3 separate regions of the Homo sapiens genome follow, and regions 2 and 3 are each linked to region 1. Evidence: promoter capture Hi-C in human tissues and cell types (Jung and others, 2019). All regions are on one chromosome and are shown on one strand. Each heading gives the region's core, a stretch centred on a gene start or on the middle of the fragment in contact. The rest is flanking DNA. Distances are from core to core; before and after follow the strand shown. Region 1 holds the start of MRGPRE (MAS related GPR family member E). Region 2 overlaps CARS1 (cysteinyl-tRNA synthetase 1). Region 3 has its middle 27 kb from the start of ZNF195.

The links. The method cuts DNA at HindIII sites, captures the fragments that hold promoters and counts their contacts. A contact is called where the count stands out against the background at its distance.
Region 2: a contact is called between a fragment that was not itself captured here and the fragment with the promoter of MRGPRE in region 1, in 2 of the 25 tissues and cell types used here (adrenal gland and heart right ventricle).
Region 3: a contact is called between a fragment that was not itself captured here and the fragment with the promoter of MRGPRE in region 1, in 1 of the 25 tissues and cell types used here (pancreas).

What each region holds. Positions count from the first base shown.
Region 1 is chr11:3,229,450-3,234,305 of GRCh38, reverse strand. It overlaps MRGPRE (MAS related GPR family member E), which reads left to right and starts at 1,889. Exons shown (of 2, transcript NM_001039165.4): 1 at 1,889-2,165. The HindIII fragment of the contact is 8,659 bases long and covers 1-4,856 here.
Region 2 is chr11:3,036,180-3,041,035 of GRCh38, reverse strand. CARS1 (cysteinyl-tRNA synthetase 1) reads left to right here. Exons shown (of 23, transcript NM_001014437.3): 4 at 52-140; 5 at 1,105-1,201; 6 at 1,744-1,842; 7 at 2,837-2,986. It overlaps CARS1-AS1 (CARS1 antisense RNA 1), which reads right to left. Exons shown (of 2, transcript NR_046580.1): 2 at 1-256. Among named protein-coding and RNA genes, the nearest start is that of CARS1-AS1, 9.2 kb to the right of the region's middle. RefSeq lists an enhancer at 1-985. The HindIII fragment of the contact is 5,188 bases long and covers 1-4,692 here.
Region 3 is chr11:3,404,197-3,409,052 of GRCh38, reverse strand. It overlaps the pseudogene TSSC2 and the pseudogene FAM86GP. Among named protein-coding and RNA genes, the nearest start is that of ZNF195, 27 kb to the right of the region's middle. RefSeq lists enhancers at 1,997-2,508, 2,509-3,022, 3,380-4,213, 4,214-4,856. The HindIII fragment of the contact is 7,437 bases long and covers 1-4,856 here.

The DNA.
Region 1 (4,856 bases), core at 640-3,139:
AGTGGGACAATTAAAACTGTGGGGAAATTGGAAGGGTGGGACAATTGGAAGAGTGAGGCAATTGGAAGGCAGTACAATTGATAGGAGTGGGACAACTGGAAGGAGTGGGACAACTGGAAGGTGAGACCATTGGAAAGGTGGATCAATTGGAAGGTAAGACCATTGGAAAGGTGGGTCAATTGAAAGAGGGGGACAATTGCAAGGGAAGGGCAATTTAAAAAGTGGGACCATTGGAAAGAATGGGGCAATTGGAAGGAGGGGGACAACTAAAAGAGTGGGATAATTAAAAGGATGAGGCAATTGGAAGGCTGGGACAATTGGAAAGAGTGGGAAAATTGGAAGGGTGGGACAGTTGGAAGGCTAATGCAATTGGAAGGTGGGATAATTGGAGGGTGGGACAACTGGAAGGAGTGGGACAAATGGAAGAGTGGGACAATTGGAAGGAGTGGGACAAATGGAAGAGTGGGACAATTGGAAGGAGTGGGACAATTGGAAGAGTGGGACAATTGGAAGGAGTGGGACAAATGGAAGAGTGGGACAATTGGAAGGAGTGGGACAAATGGAAGAGTGGGACAATTGGAAGGAGTGGGACAATTGGAAGAGTGGGACAATTGGAAGGAGTGGGACAAATGGAAGAGTGGGACAAATGGAAGAGTGGGACAGTTGGAAGGAGTGGGACAATTGGAAGGGTCGGGCATTTGGAAGGGTGGGACAGCTTTAAGGTGTAAGACAAGTGGAAGGCATGGAACTTATGAAAGGGTGGGATGGACAATTGAAAGGAGTGGCACTATTGGAACTGTGGGACAACTGGAGGGAGTGTGGCACTTAGAAGGGTGAGATATTTGGAACGTGTGGGGCGATTGGGAGCACTTCCCCCACACCCCTGGGCCATCCTTGAGTGACCACCCACTGGTAGGGCCTCCCAGAGCGGTGGCAGAGCCCAGGCATGGTTTACAGAGCCTCGGGCACCTGGCAGCTCGGATCCTGGTTTAGGAAGGGAGGATTTGAAGCTGAGACACAACTCAGCAAGCGGCACTGCTGCCTGTCAGATACCAGCCCCGCATGGACGTCAGACACCAGCGCGACACATTCATCAGACACCAGCATTGCACAGACGCCAGACGACCTGTGTGCGGCCCCTCCGTTTTGGGGATGGAGGATGCCGGTGCCCTGGGGGATGCCTGCTGATGTAGTGACAGGTCAAAGGCCACGTGCGGGAAACTTGCTCTCACTTGGTCCGCAAGAGGAGAGGTCAGGCGGACTGCGCAGAGTGGGAAACGCTCCGGAGCAAATCCGTGCTGTTTCTGCACTCTTCTCTACCTCGGAGATTTTTCTAAAGACAAAGATGAGAAAAGAGTTGCTAGGGCCTGGACTCGGGGAGGAACAGAGGCCAAAAAATGACCTTGTTTTCCTTCTCTTGGCACGTCAATTGCGATCTCCCTTAAGGCAGGGCACTGGAAGGAAAGGCACGGTCTGAAACGGGACTTGAAATCACTGAGTTCACGAGGTCTCCCGGAGCCTGACGCTGCTGTATGTGTTTGATTCTCCTCGGCCGGGGACCGCGCGGCAGCTTCTTGACACCGGCCATCTACTCTGTGCCTGCGAACGAGGCAGGAGGGACGGCCTCACGCACATCCCCGCTCCTCCCCGCGGTCCCACACTGCCTGGAGAGCTGGGGCCGGCAGCCTGTGCTCTGCGGAGAGAAAAACACATTTTTGCTGCAAGGACAAGTTCCGCCGGTAGCCCGGCTCTCAGCCGGCCCCTCCGAGGCACAGATGGAAAGAAGTGGTCCCTAAAGGGCCCTACAGGGCTTGGTGTCTCTGAGCCAGGAGTGCCAGTGAAGTCACAGCTTGGCTGGGCTCCACCCAGAGATCTCGTGGTTTCCTCTGCCTGCCAGGCCTGCCTGGAAGGCTGCAGGGAGGTTCAGGGTTTCTCTTGCTGTCCACACCTGGGCGAGAGCTGAGCGGAAGAGAAGGGGTCCTCAGAGAGACACCTTCCTGACCGGCCCCATTCCAGCTGGATGCCATGTGACTCGGAGGAGCTGGTGGACACTGAACAGGAGCCGCCCAGAGGCTCTGGGGACTGGAGCCCTCGGCCGCGGCCAGGATAGATCCAAGGCCCAGGGTCAGAGCAGGCAGGGCTCGGCCAGTCCTCTGCCCCAAACGGTGAGTAGCGCAGGTGGCTGGATCAGGGTGGGTCTCTGGGGCCGGCCCAGGCGCTCGGCATTTTCTGGGCTCTTTTGCTGGCCAGATGGTGGCAGGGGTGGGGCGTGGGCAACAGCAGATGCTATCAACAGGGAGCTCTCCAGGCTGCAGCCTCCGCCCTCTGACGGGCCGCACCACCTGGTCCGCAGCCAGCCCTGGGCTGAGTCTGGAAGAGGACGATAGCTTGGGTGATGGCTCCCCAACCCCCCACCCCCGGTGGCTCTGTCTCCTGTCTGCCTTGCTTCCTCCATGATCTAGAGTGTTCCCTGCAGGTGCAGACTCTCAAGGGGAGTCATGGGGGCAGCCGGGGATAGGCCCTCTCCTCCCTGCCACACCTGGGTGCTCAGCCTCAGGGCTTCTCAGTATTGGCTGTCTGGGCGGGACACAGAGCCACTCCTGGACCACCCAGGGATGGGGAATGCTGTGCCTCCCTCCTCTTCTGTTCCATCGTCCTTCCCCGCCTCCTCCCCTCCTTCTCCTCCCCCTCCTCCTCCTCCCTCCTGTTCTCTTCCATCGTCCTCCCCCGCCTCCTCCCCTCCTTCTCCTCCCTCTCCTCTTCCTCCTGCTCACCAAGGATGCAACAAACTCCTCTACTCCCCACAGTCCTGTAACCCAACTGTGGCGACCCTTCCTACAGAGCTCTGCCTCCCTCCCGAGCCCCCAGTGGGGCACATGGTCCCACAGGGAGACCTCCTCCAGGGTCACAGCAGAGAGGGGGCAGCAGCAGGGTCTGGCTGAGCTCCGTGGCTCTAACCCCTTGTCCCCCTGTTCTCCTCCCTGTTTCCTTCTCTGTCCCCCATCTCTTCATGCCTCTCCCCTTCCTGCACTCTCCCCTCTCCCTCTATGTCCATCGCTTCCCTGCCATGCTCTCTCCCTGGGGCCCACCCATGAGGCCCGTGTCCTCCTCAGCCATGCAGGAGGTGAGATAGGAGAGGGACCATGGCCCTTGGTGGGCCACAGGCTGGAGAAACCCCACCTGTTGCTTTGGGGCTGGAGCTTGCTGGTAGATCCCGGAGATAGCTCCGTCCATGGGTGGACGGGACTTGTGCCTGGGAGGGGGTCCACCATCAACAGACTTAAGACCTCCCAAAACTCATCTCTGCCTCCCTCTGGGCCTGAGGGTTGGTGACCCCCCCAAGCTATCCTGAGTAGGAGAGCATCTGTCCCCCTCCCCACATCTCCCCACCTGCCATGGCAGTGATGCCCCGTCTGCCCCACTCAGGGTGTCCTCCTGATGATGCTGGCCCAGGTGGGGCTCCCTCCACCACCACCTCACCTCCCACCCATGGTCTGCCTTCCCGGGGCCTTGGGTGCTAGGATGGAGCACAGGGACAGGAGGAAGAGCCCTATATCTCCAACCAGGCTTGACTCCACCCGCAGGAGATTCAGACTGGACCACGGGCAGGACTCAGCTTCCTGAGGTGCTGGGACTGGGGCCTCCTCTCCACTGAGCCCCCCACCCCCATGCCCACCCCTGAGGCGGGGACAACCTCAGGCTGTCATTTCACCCCAGTCAAACAAAAGACCACAGAGCTGAGGGTGTAAGCCGAGGGAGATGACCAGCACCTCACGGGGTGGCTGGCACCTCTGTGCTCAGCGATAGCCCCGCCCCGGGCCACCTCTCCCCAGCATCCCAGCACCGCAGCGTCCCCCTGCATGGTCTCGGGTGCTCCTATCACTGGAGGGAGACAGCAGGGGTTCTGAGCACAACCTTGAGGTGGGAAGAAGCCGCTAAGACCAGCTATGGGGGTTTCTGCTTGTACCCCCACCCTCCTCACCCCAAACCCCAGCCCTCCCAGGACACAGGAGGACCAGCCACCACCAAGGTGGGAGGGGCACCTGGTGTCGGCCCCTGACCCCAGCCAGTCTCTGGGGAGAGGCAAGGCCCCATCCCCTCTCCCCCAACCCCAAGAGGAGAAGCTGGGGTCACCAAGCACTCAGAGACACATGACGGGCCAGGTAACCACAGGGGCAGCATGGGGCCGGGTATCTGCAGGCATGTCTCCGGCTCTGAGCACCTGGCAGTCTCCTAGAGTCTATTACTTGCTGTATTTCTGGCAAAGCTGTGATGAAGACTCCGATTCCAGCCTAGGTCCCCTGGGATTTGTGCTGCCTCCCAGGACTCAGTACCCCTCCCGCAGGACCTGTCCCCGTGAGCCGACTGCCTTGGGAGGGGATGGAGGGAGGCTGGAGACGCCATGGAAGCTCAGGGCCCCTCCCAGCCCCATCATCAGACAGCTCCCTCTTCTCCCCATGGGGAAAGGGCGGGCAACGTTGAGCAGGATGCAGCCTCCTCATGTGCCCCCTACCCTGCAGAGGGCTGGAGTCCTGCTGTAGGACAGCAGGGACATGGCCAGGGGAAAGGGAGTTTTCCTGTGGCCCTGATGTGGCTGCATGGTGTGACCAAGCTGGAGGGCTGGGGACTGGGAGCCCACTGGCAAACAACCCCTCATGGATGTCAAGGAAAGGCCTCAAAGAGTTGAGGGCTGCTTTAAGATGATGACGAAAAGCCCCACAGCCACTGTAAGCTGTCCCTCTGTGGTCACACCACTCATTAGACATGGGCGGTGCCTCCTGCTCTGCCTATGACTTTAAAATAAGTCATATTTTATTCTTTGGGAGTCCAAGGCAGGCGGATCACGAGGTCAGGAG
Region 2 (4,856 bases), core at 849-3,348, 190 kb after region 1:
GCAGTGTTTCTTGCATTTCTTGTGATCGTCATTCCTTCATTCCTAACAAAGGAAGTGTTCATACCTCAAGATGGGAAAAAGGTGACGTGGTATTGCTGTGGGCCAACCGTCTATGACGCATCTCACATGGGGCACGCCAGGTAGGTCCACCGCGGGGTGTCCCTGCAGCTTCTGCAGTTGCACGCAGAAGTCAGAGCCATTGGGATCCACAGCAGCGATCTTAGGTCCACAAAGATCTTAGATCTGCTACAGAGACCTGAGATTTGAGGAATCAAGACTGAATTTCTTCTCTTATTTTTAAGATGAAAATTTTAATGCCATAAGTAATCTATATTCACTGCAGAAAGACTACAGATCACCAAAAAGAAAATGTCCATAGCCCCACTGCTAACATGCTGGACTCGACCTGGGCACTTTTTCTCACATACCTTAAAGTTTTCTCTCATCCCTCAAGCTCTCGTGGGGTCCCCAGATGCTGAGTTCCCGTGACACTCAGACCTGACAGGCCTGACGCTGGGTTGGCTGTGACCGCCCCCCGACCACTGGATGGTCATGGCTGTAGCTCCTGACGAGTAGCTGGCTGTTGGGGTAAATGCCACAGAGTCCTTTTATGTGTTCATGTTTTAGTTGCAGTGCCAAGGTCATGTATAGTCAACCCTTGAACAACCTGGAGGGTAGAGGGTGTGACCCTCTGCACAGTTGAAAATCCACACATAACTTTTGATTCCCCAAAAACTTCACCACTAAAATAGCCTCCTGTTGACCAATAGCATGCCAGTCAATGAACACATATTTTGTATATACATTACATACTGTATTCCTAATGATAAAGGAAGCCAGAGAAAAGAAAATATTATGAAGAAAATCATAAGGGAGAGGCAATATATTTACTATTCATTAGGTGGAAGTGGATCATTATAAAGGTCATCATCCTTGCCATCTTCACGTTGAGTAGACTGAGGAGGAGAAGGGGGGGTCTTGCTGTTTCAGGGATGGCAGAGAAAATCATATATAAATGCACTCATGCAGTTCAAACACGTGTTGTTGGAGGTTAAGCTATACATATCGTCTGGTGTGGAAATGTTTGTTTTTTCATTGCTTTAGGTCCTACATCTCTTTTGATATCTTGAGAAGAGTGTTGAAGGATTACTTCAAATTTGATGTCTTTTATTGCATGAACATTACGGATATTGATGACAAGGTAAAGGGAATTTGTAAGATTAAATTTTAAATGCAATTGGATGGTGTAAAAGAAGATAGAACTTTCGCATAAGTAAATAATGTAGGCTTGAGCTAGCTTGTGTTTTCACCTGATAAACATCATTTTAATCCCCTCAGTGAGTTAATATTACCACTTCTGCTACTGATATGATCATTTCTATGATGTTCAGACACGGTTAGAAACCTGCATGTTGCTCAGGGGTCGGTAGCCCTGGGTGTTTTGCAGAAGGAAGGCCTCCCACAGCACGCACTTCGACATGTGGCTTGCAGGGGAAGCTGGGGCCCCCAGGGCTCATTTCATTAAGCGTCAGAAAGATCATGTTAGGCCTTGGGCACTACTTGGCAGGTGGGAGATGGAGGGTGGTGTTTCTATTTGATGATGGTGTGCACGTCCGGGGCCCACAGTTGTCTCCCACCACCCTCACCCTCACTTAGAGTTGGCCAAGGGAGAGAGTGGCCTGCTGCAGAGGGATGCATGTGGGATCCAAGCATCACTCCCCAATGTCTGCCTTCCCTCCCCAGATCATCAAGAGGGCCCGGCAGAACCACCTGTTCGAGCAGTATCGGGAGAAGAGGCCTGAAGCGGCACAGCTCTTGGAGGATGTTCAGGCCGCCCTGAAGGTGGGCCTCTTGCTGTCTGCTCTAGAAACCGAGCCCTTTGCTTTCTGTTCTCGGTCCTTTGTAGGCTACTGTCCCTAGGGTAGTGTCAGTCTCACAGGCTTTCACAAAGTGTATGTTACTCAAGCCAGTTCCGTCAGGGGCGCTGAAGTCTCCATAGGTAAGGTCCCCTGGCCTGTGACAAAGTCACCAGCAAAGATGTACTGGAGTGGAGTGGAGAGTAGGTGACATTCCTGCCACTTACAGGAAAACAACTGAATTCATCACAGTGCCACTAATTACACTTATAAAAATGCTTACCAATATTGCTGTCTAATTTTCAATGCCAAGGTTACAACTAAATCAGAAACTTCTGCCCAAGATACAAAAGCTATACTAAGCTTTTTAATTTGGTAATACTGTAAATTTTCAGAATCTTTTGAAGAAATTAGTTCTCTCTAGTATTTTCATTCTGAATAACCATCGTTATATACTTATTTTTATTACAATAGTAAGAATAGGTCATTTTACTCTCTACTAATTATCCTTAGTAATTACAGTAATCATTATGGATATGCTTATGGCATTTTATCTCTGGAATTAAAAACAGGAATAAAATTAGAGCTGAGCAATCTTTTAGGTCAGTGAGGCCTGAGTACCTTCCTGATGGATGTGTCTGCAGCACACCTCAGAACACACTGGGTGGCCTACTTTTCCTCATCCCCAGAACAGCCCTAGAAATACTGCTCTCACACCCAATTTGCATTGGAGAAACTGAGGCACAGAGAGGTTAGGTGCCCTGTCCAGGGTCACACGTGAGAGGGCAGAACCAGGAGCTCCTGAGCCGGGAGCTTCAGTCTCTCTTAGTTCCTTACTGCCTGGCCACTTGGGTTGCACACTTCTCTATCTCTATGGGGCCATGGGAAAAACCGTTCTGTTTTCTACCTGGAATCACCTTTATGAATTTAGGTTTTGCTGAGCAGTATCTAATAGATTTGACGTCTCTTTATGGTTGCAGCCATTTTCAGTAAAATTAAATGAGACCACGGATCCCGATAAAAAGCAGATGCTCGAACGGATTCAGCACGCAGTGCAGCTTGCCACAGAGCCACTTGAGAAAGCTGTGCAGTCCAGACTCACGGGAGAGGAAGTCAACAGCTGTGTGGAGGTGAGGCTTCACACATCTCCCAGACAGCCCGTTCGGGTCAAATGTCGGGCCGTGCATAGACTGATCTGTGTGCACGGATTGATTCCACAGATTGTCTTAGTGGAAGACACTCTGTGTCTCCAGTAGCTCCACTGTGGCAGGCGGCCCTGTTCTGCGGTGGCTGAGTCAGTGCCCCTCCCCTCCCACACCCCTTTGCCCCATTTCCTGGGTGCAGAGCCTGTGCCACTGGAAGGAGACTCGGGATCCACACCCTCCCACCACTTCCATCAGATAGGCAGGAGGTGCACTTGGAACGTGGGGAGGCAGCCTTCTGTCGAAGTGTTCCAAGATTCTCCAGCGGACTCTCCCCACACCAGCTGGAGAAGGAGGAGCAGGGATTAACATTGAATTGAGCATTGAGGCCTGTGGGTACCTACTGAGCTTGGGGCCTTCACGTTGACCAGCTCTCCTGCCCCTGCCAATATCTCCTTCAGACACAGGGCAGAGACCTGGGTGCAGAGGGGACCCTGCCCTCTTCCTCAGGCCTTTCCCTGTGGCTGGCGCCCTGGACACAGTCAGGAAGGCCTTCTCCTTTGTGCCAGCGCCGCCTGCTGGTCACCCTTTAAGAACTCGATGGAAAAGAGAAGAGACGGCTGCAGCTGTGTGTAGAAAAAGAGGCCCCACTGAGGCCGCAGCCCTGCCTTCCCTCACCACTGCCCTGGCCCCACCTCAGTGATGGGGCAGGGAGTCTGTGTCTGCCCTTCGCCAGCATGTTTCTTTCTAGTTTGGTCTCTTCTGTGTCCTGACTCAGCAGATCGCTTCGTTGCGCCTGTTTCCAAACTTCACGGAAACACGCCACGTGTATGTAGTCGTCAGTGTGCTTTCACCCAAGCTGTGCTTCTGGGACGACCCACATGTGGTCACTGTCACTGCCTCAGTGCCTGCCTGGGAGCCGAGCTGTTTGTCTGTTCTCCTGGGACGGGCAGTTAGGTTTCCTTCTTACCAACAATGCTGCTGTAATTTTTTTCCCAGTTGTTCCACTAATATTCTTTTTTTTTTTTTAATTGTGGTAAAACACACATCATAAGAAATTTACCATCTTAGCCATTTTTAAAAACTTTTTTTTTGTAGAGACAGGGTCTTTTTGTGTCTGGTTTATTTTGCCCAGCATAGTGTGCCCATGGTTGACCCATGCTGTAGTGCATGTCAGACTCTGCTTCCTTCCTATGGCTGAATGATACTCTGTTGTGTATAGATGGGCCACATTTTGCTCATCCTTTCACCTGCCCGTGGACACGTGGGTTGTTTCCACCTTTTGGAGATGCAAGTAATGCTGCTATAAACCTGGGTGTACAAATATCTGTTTGGGTTCCTGCTTTCACTTCTTTTGGGGATATACACGGAAGTGGAATTGCTGGGTCATGTGATGATTCTATTTTTGATATTCTGCGTAACCACCGTATTGTTTCTGCAGTGGCTGCACTATTACACATTCCCACCCATAGTGCATGGGGTTCTGTTTTCTCCACATCCTTGCCAAAGCTTGTTATTCTTCATTTTTTTCATCCCAGTAGGTGTGAGGTGGTATACTGTGGTTTTGGTTTGCATTTCCTTAATGGCTAGTGATGTGGAGTGTCTTTTGCTGAACTGTGAGTTGTTTTGTGTTGTCTCTAGGTGGACATTTGCAAGTTTCTTTAGGCCATATACCTGCAAGTGGAATCGCTGGGTTGTGTAGGATATATGTGAGTGACTGTCGGGGGTTCCCAACACTGCCCACACATTCTGGGGCCCTAGAAGGACTCATGAGACTCGGCATCGAGTTATCATCTTGTCTAAGGTTTGTAGCAGTGACACAGCGAGGAGCAGAAGCTCAGGCGGAGTCTTCAATCAT
Region 3 (4,856 bases), core at 1,043-3,542, 170 kb before region 1:
GGGCGTGAAGAACAGAAGAAGAGAGGAAGTGTTTCCGAGCCTCCAGAAAAGAAATCAGAGCCAAGCACAGCTTCCCGGGTCACAGAACCAATTCATTCACCAGGTGGCACTACTGCCATCATTTCAGCTTCTGGCCACTGGGAGGCGCTGCTCGAAAGGATTTGCCCTGAGACTCTGAGAAGAAGCTGTGGGAAGGACAGCAGGGGTCCCGGGGTTTTAGCCTCTGGCCCAGGAGTTATGTGTCCATAACCAAAGGGAGCACAGTCTGCACCCAGCTCTAATCCCATCGGAGCTGCTGCGACTCCCGCAGGTTCTTCCGGAACTGGTTTAGCTTGCCCGCAGGATCAGGAAAGTTTGAGAAAAGCACCTGCAAAAAAATAAAGAGCAGAGCTTACCTCATTGCCTGTCCCCACCCCATCCCATGTCACCACCTGGCTGACCCCAGGTCCCCTACCCAACAACAACCCCTCCCAAGTTCCTAACTCCCTCACTTGGACTCGAGACTCTTCATGCCCCAGCAGCGCTCTGCCTCCAACTTGACATCATGCTTTCTGGAAACTTCCCCGTATGTCCCACTTTCCCACACTTGGTGCCCTGGAGCACCTCCTGGCCTCTACATGCTGTATGTTCCCCTGCGAGCACCCTCCTCTTGGCCTCCGGCCAAGTCCCACCCATCTGTGGGTAACAAGGGGGTGTCGGTGTTCTTTTCAGCCTTGCTAAACTGTCTGAATCAAGGATCACAAACTACAGCCTGCAGGCCAAATCCAGCCCACAGCCTGTGTTTGTAAATAAAGTTTTATTCGAACAAAGCCACACCCCTTAATCGACAGATGATCTGTGGCTACTTTCACACCACAACAGAGTACCATGGTTCTGACAGAGACTGGGGGACCCAGTCTAAATGACTTCTGACCTGGACCTTTACTGAAAATCCTGCCAATCATTCTGTTGGCAAGAATGATGTATTACTTTTAGCAATAAGAAACAAGTAACCTTTGCAGAATTCCACCCATCTTTCAAGGCTGGTCCCAGAAGCTCCCTTTGCCCACGCACCTACCTGACCCTGATCACTTCCTAAACTGCAGCCCGGCCCACCCGGCTCCAGCATCATTTGTGGAATGTCAGCTCCATAAATCCAGAGGGCAGGTGGGGGTGTGTCCTAACTTTCCCGAGCTTACTGTACCGAAACGGGACAGCAGAGTGGGCCGGACTCTGTGACCTCTGCTCCCTCCCTAGCTTTTCCGCCAGACCCCACATGGTCCCACCCTGGCTGTGGGAAGCAGGGATCAGGGAGCGTGGCTCGGTGCCAGCCTCCAGAACCCTCCCCACCCTGGCGTGGTGGCAGATGTGGCTACCTGCAGCTGAGCTGCCAGTTCCTCTGAGTCCTCAAAGACCAGGCCATTTTCTTCATGTTTCACCAGCTCATGTAAACTGCAGAGAGAACCAAGGGAGCCTGAGAGCTGCCTGGAGAAGACACCAGACCCCTGGGGTGCCCACCTGGGCTCCCCCCAACAACCCATGCTCAAGCCAGGCTGGGGGTTGGAACAGGGGGTGTGGTTTCTGGGAGCTGGTTCTTAGATTTGGCATCTGAAGGGTATAAAGGCCTGGGGGGGTGCACATCGAAATGGCCAAACCGATTTGAGGAGGGAGCCTTAAGGAGGGTTTCTACCTTCTGTGCTGGATGCTCTTCAAGGACTGAAGAATTATTTTTGCATGTTTTGCTTAATTCCATGGCCATGGAACAAGTAAAGGCAACACCCTGGGGACTGGCTCAGCACATAAAAGATGACTTTTCTAGGGCACCAGGTTTGATCCCGACATTCCCTGAGCTCAGCTCACACGAGGGGCTCACATCCCTGACTCCCATCCAGGAGCCGGCTCCTGAGCAGGGGCCAAGGGCTCAGCTTGTGCTGGGGCTACTGCTTCTAGAATCTCCTCTAACACCGCCCTTCCAAATGCCCGTCTACGCTGGGTGCAGTGAGGCCACAGCACGACACTCATTTAACTCATTCAAACCCAGCACGTGAGCTTGGCCAAACAGGACATGGTGGGAGAGAAAGAAACAAAGAAAACCATGTAAGCCTGCAGGCAATTCCCGCCAATTCTACTCTAGGAGCAAAAGCCCCGAGTGGAGTTCCAGTATTTAAGATGCTTTTTTTTCATATTAGGTTGGTGCAAAAGTAATTGCCATCTTTAATGGCAAAAACCGTGATTACTTTTGTATCAACCTAAATATAACATGAGCTCTAAATGGAAGCAACTACTTCAGTGAGGCTCAGCCCAGACACAGTAACCGCAGGGCTCCTCCTCGTGGCCTCCAGTGTGTGCTGGACTGACCCAGGAGCAGGGCCTCACTGTGGGCAGCTCGCTCTGCACTGTTTCCTCCTCAGCGGTGGATCTGTGAAGCTATCCCCAGAAAGATTCGGGTTCTGCTCCTGCCACTTGAAGTTCACGGCACACACAGGCAAACAGCACCCGAACATGTCCACCACCTTCATGGGCAGGTCCAGGCCACTGCAGGACGTGTGCAGACAGACACCCAGATCCACCGACCCTGCTGGGCAAGAGGGGTGCGGTCAGAGCGCTGGTCTCTGCCCTGGGAACACAAATCCTCCCAGCACAGTGAGGCAACATCCCCCGAGGGGAGTGAAAATCGGATAAGTCCCCCGACAGCCCCAAGCACAAGTGGCTTAAGCTGGCCAAGCAGCCACATGGCCTGGCTGGGACATCTGAAAATGTAAGTTGACACTTTTTCTACGTAACCACAATTTGGTTTTTTTGTTGTTGTTTTGTTTTGTTTTGAGACAGAGTCTCACTCCGTCACCCAGGCTGGAGTGCAGTGGCACAATCTCAGCTCACTGCAACCTCCACCTCCCAGGTTCACCTCCCGCATGTAAGCCCAGCATTTTGTGAGGCCAAGGTGGGTGGAACACCTGAGGTCAGGAGTTCAAGACCAGCCTGGCCAACATGGTGAAACCCCATCTCTACTAAAAAAAATACAAAATTAGCGAAGCATCGTGGCAGGTGCCTGTAATCCCAGCTACTCAGGAGGCTGAGGCAGGAGAATTGCTTGAACCTGGGAAGGCGGAGGTTGCAGTGAGCCAAGATCGTGCCATTGCACCCCAGCCTGGGCTACAAGAGCGAAACTCTGTCTCAAAATAATAATAATAATAATAATAATAATAATAAAAAACCACAGCACACCCACTACAAACCAGCTGTCAGTGTGAAAATAAAGTGAAACAGCTTAACATTTCTAAAGACTAGCTGGGGCCAGGCGTGATGGGTCACGCCTGGAATCCCAGCACTTAGGGAGGCCAAGGCAGGAGGATCACTTGAAGTCAGGAGTTCAAGACCAGCCTGGCCAACACGGTGAAACCCTGTTTCTACTAAAAATACAAAAATAAACCAGGTGTTGTGGCGGGCTCCTGTAATCCCGTAATCTACTCGGGAGGCTGAGGTGGGAGAATCGCTTGAACCCAGGAGGCGGAGGTTGCATGAACTGAGATCGTGCACTCCAGCCTAGGCAACGGAGCGAGACTGTCTAAAACAAAGACTAACTGGAGAGTCCTGCCAGGAAAAGGCCCTCAGCCTCCAACTGCTCTGCTCACTCGAAGCTGGAAGATGTGGCTCTAGAGACGCATCAGGACCAAGCCACGACTCCCCACTTGGAGAAGTCAACGGGGAAAGAGACGGAGGCAAAGGAGAACCATCTCACTGGGAGAGGCGACGCTGTTTCACACATCGTCCCTGTACCTCCCAAAGCCACTGCCCTCCCACACCTGGGCAACAGTGGCCCCAACCCCAGGCCCAGCCCTCCTGCAGGAAGGAAGAGGACTGAATGGAGGGCGCGGAAGGCTGAAAGGACGTGGCCTCCTCAAACCCCTTGGTAAAGGGCCTCTGGGGCCACCTGGCAGGGAGGGGCTGGCACACCAGGAAGTAGCCTCCTCCCGGGAGTTCAGCCAGAGCCCAGGTCCTGTCCCCAAGTGGCCTCCAGAGCCACATTTTCAGAAAAAGTACATCCCGCCCACCCCTGTTCCCCCTGCTTAAGGCCCCGCCTCCTCCCTGAGCCTCCTGCTGGCCTCTCACCTAGAAGCGGGGGTAGTCCTCGGCCTCCAGCCAAGGGGTGCAGACCTGGATGTGCTGGAAATGCTTCTGGTGGATGAGGCGGCTGTAATACTCCCTCGGAGGCCCTTTGCCTTCACAGAGAAGAGCAGATACTGCCATGGACTCGTCTCTGTCCCTGCCAATTGGCCTCAGGCCCAAGACACTCCCCCCGAGGAGGGATCCCTTTCCCAGAAGCTCCACCCCTCGGCCGCTCCAGTCAGGTCCCATCCAGGCCCTTCCAGAAGCAACGCAGGAGCCCCTAGACCTGCAGGGGTGTGTGCACTCTGACCCCTGACGCACAGCCCTGCATTTGCAGCCAGCTGGCCTCGGGCTGCAAACATGGCGGGGTAAGCACTGGCCTGGCAGTCGACCGCCCACTGGGTGGACCCAGCCTTCTGTCTGTGTTGTGCACAGGGGACACGAGGACTCCCCCTGCCCTGCCACAGCCCCCAGAGCACATGGCGCAGGTTCCAAACCGCCCCTGCCCTGCCACAGCCCCCAGAGCACATGGCGTGGGCTCCAAACCACTCCTGGGAGCCTAGTGGCCAGAGGAGGGAGGAGAGCAGGACCAGCAGCTGGCCCAGACCCCGCCTCTTCCCACACCACTTCCGCTTTTCTCCGTCCTCAGAGTCACCTTGAAAGGGCTCAGCAGCAGTAACTGTGGGACAGGGGTTCTTCCGTTTGAAAAATTAAAAGAGGCTTGGTTAAGGCACCAATGACATGGCCAGGCACAGTGGTTCGTGCCTATA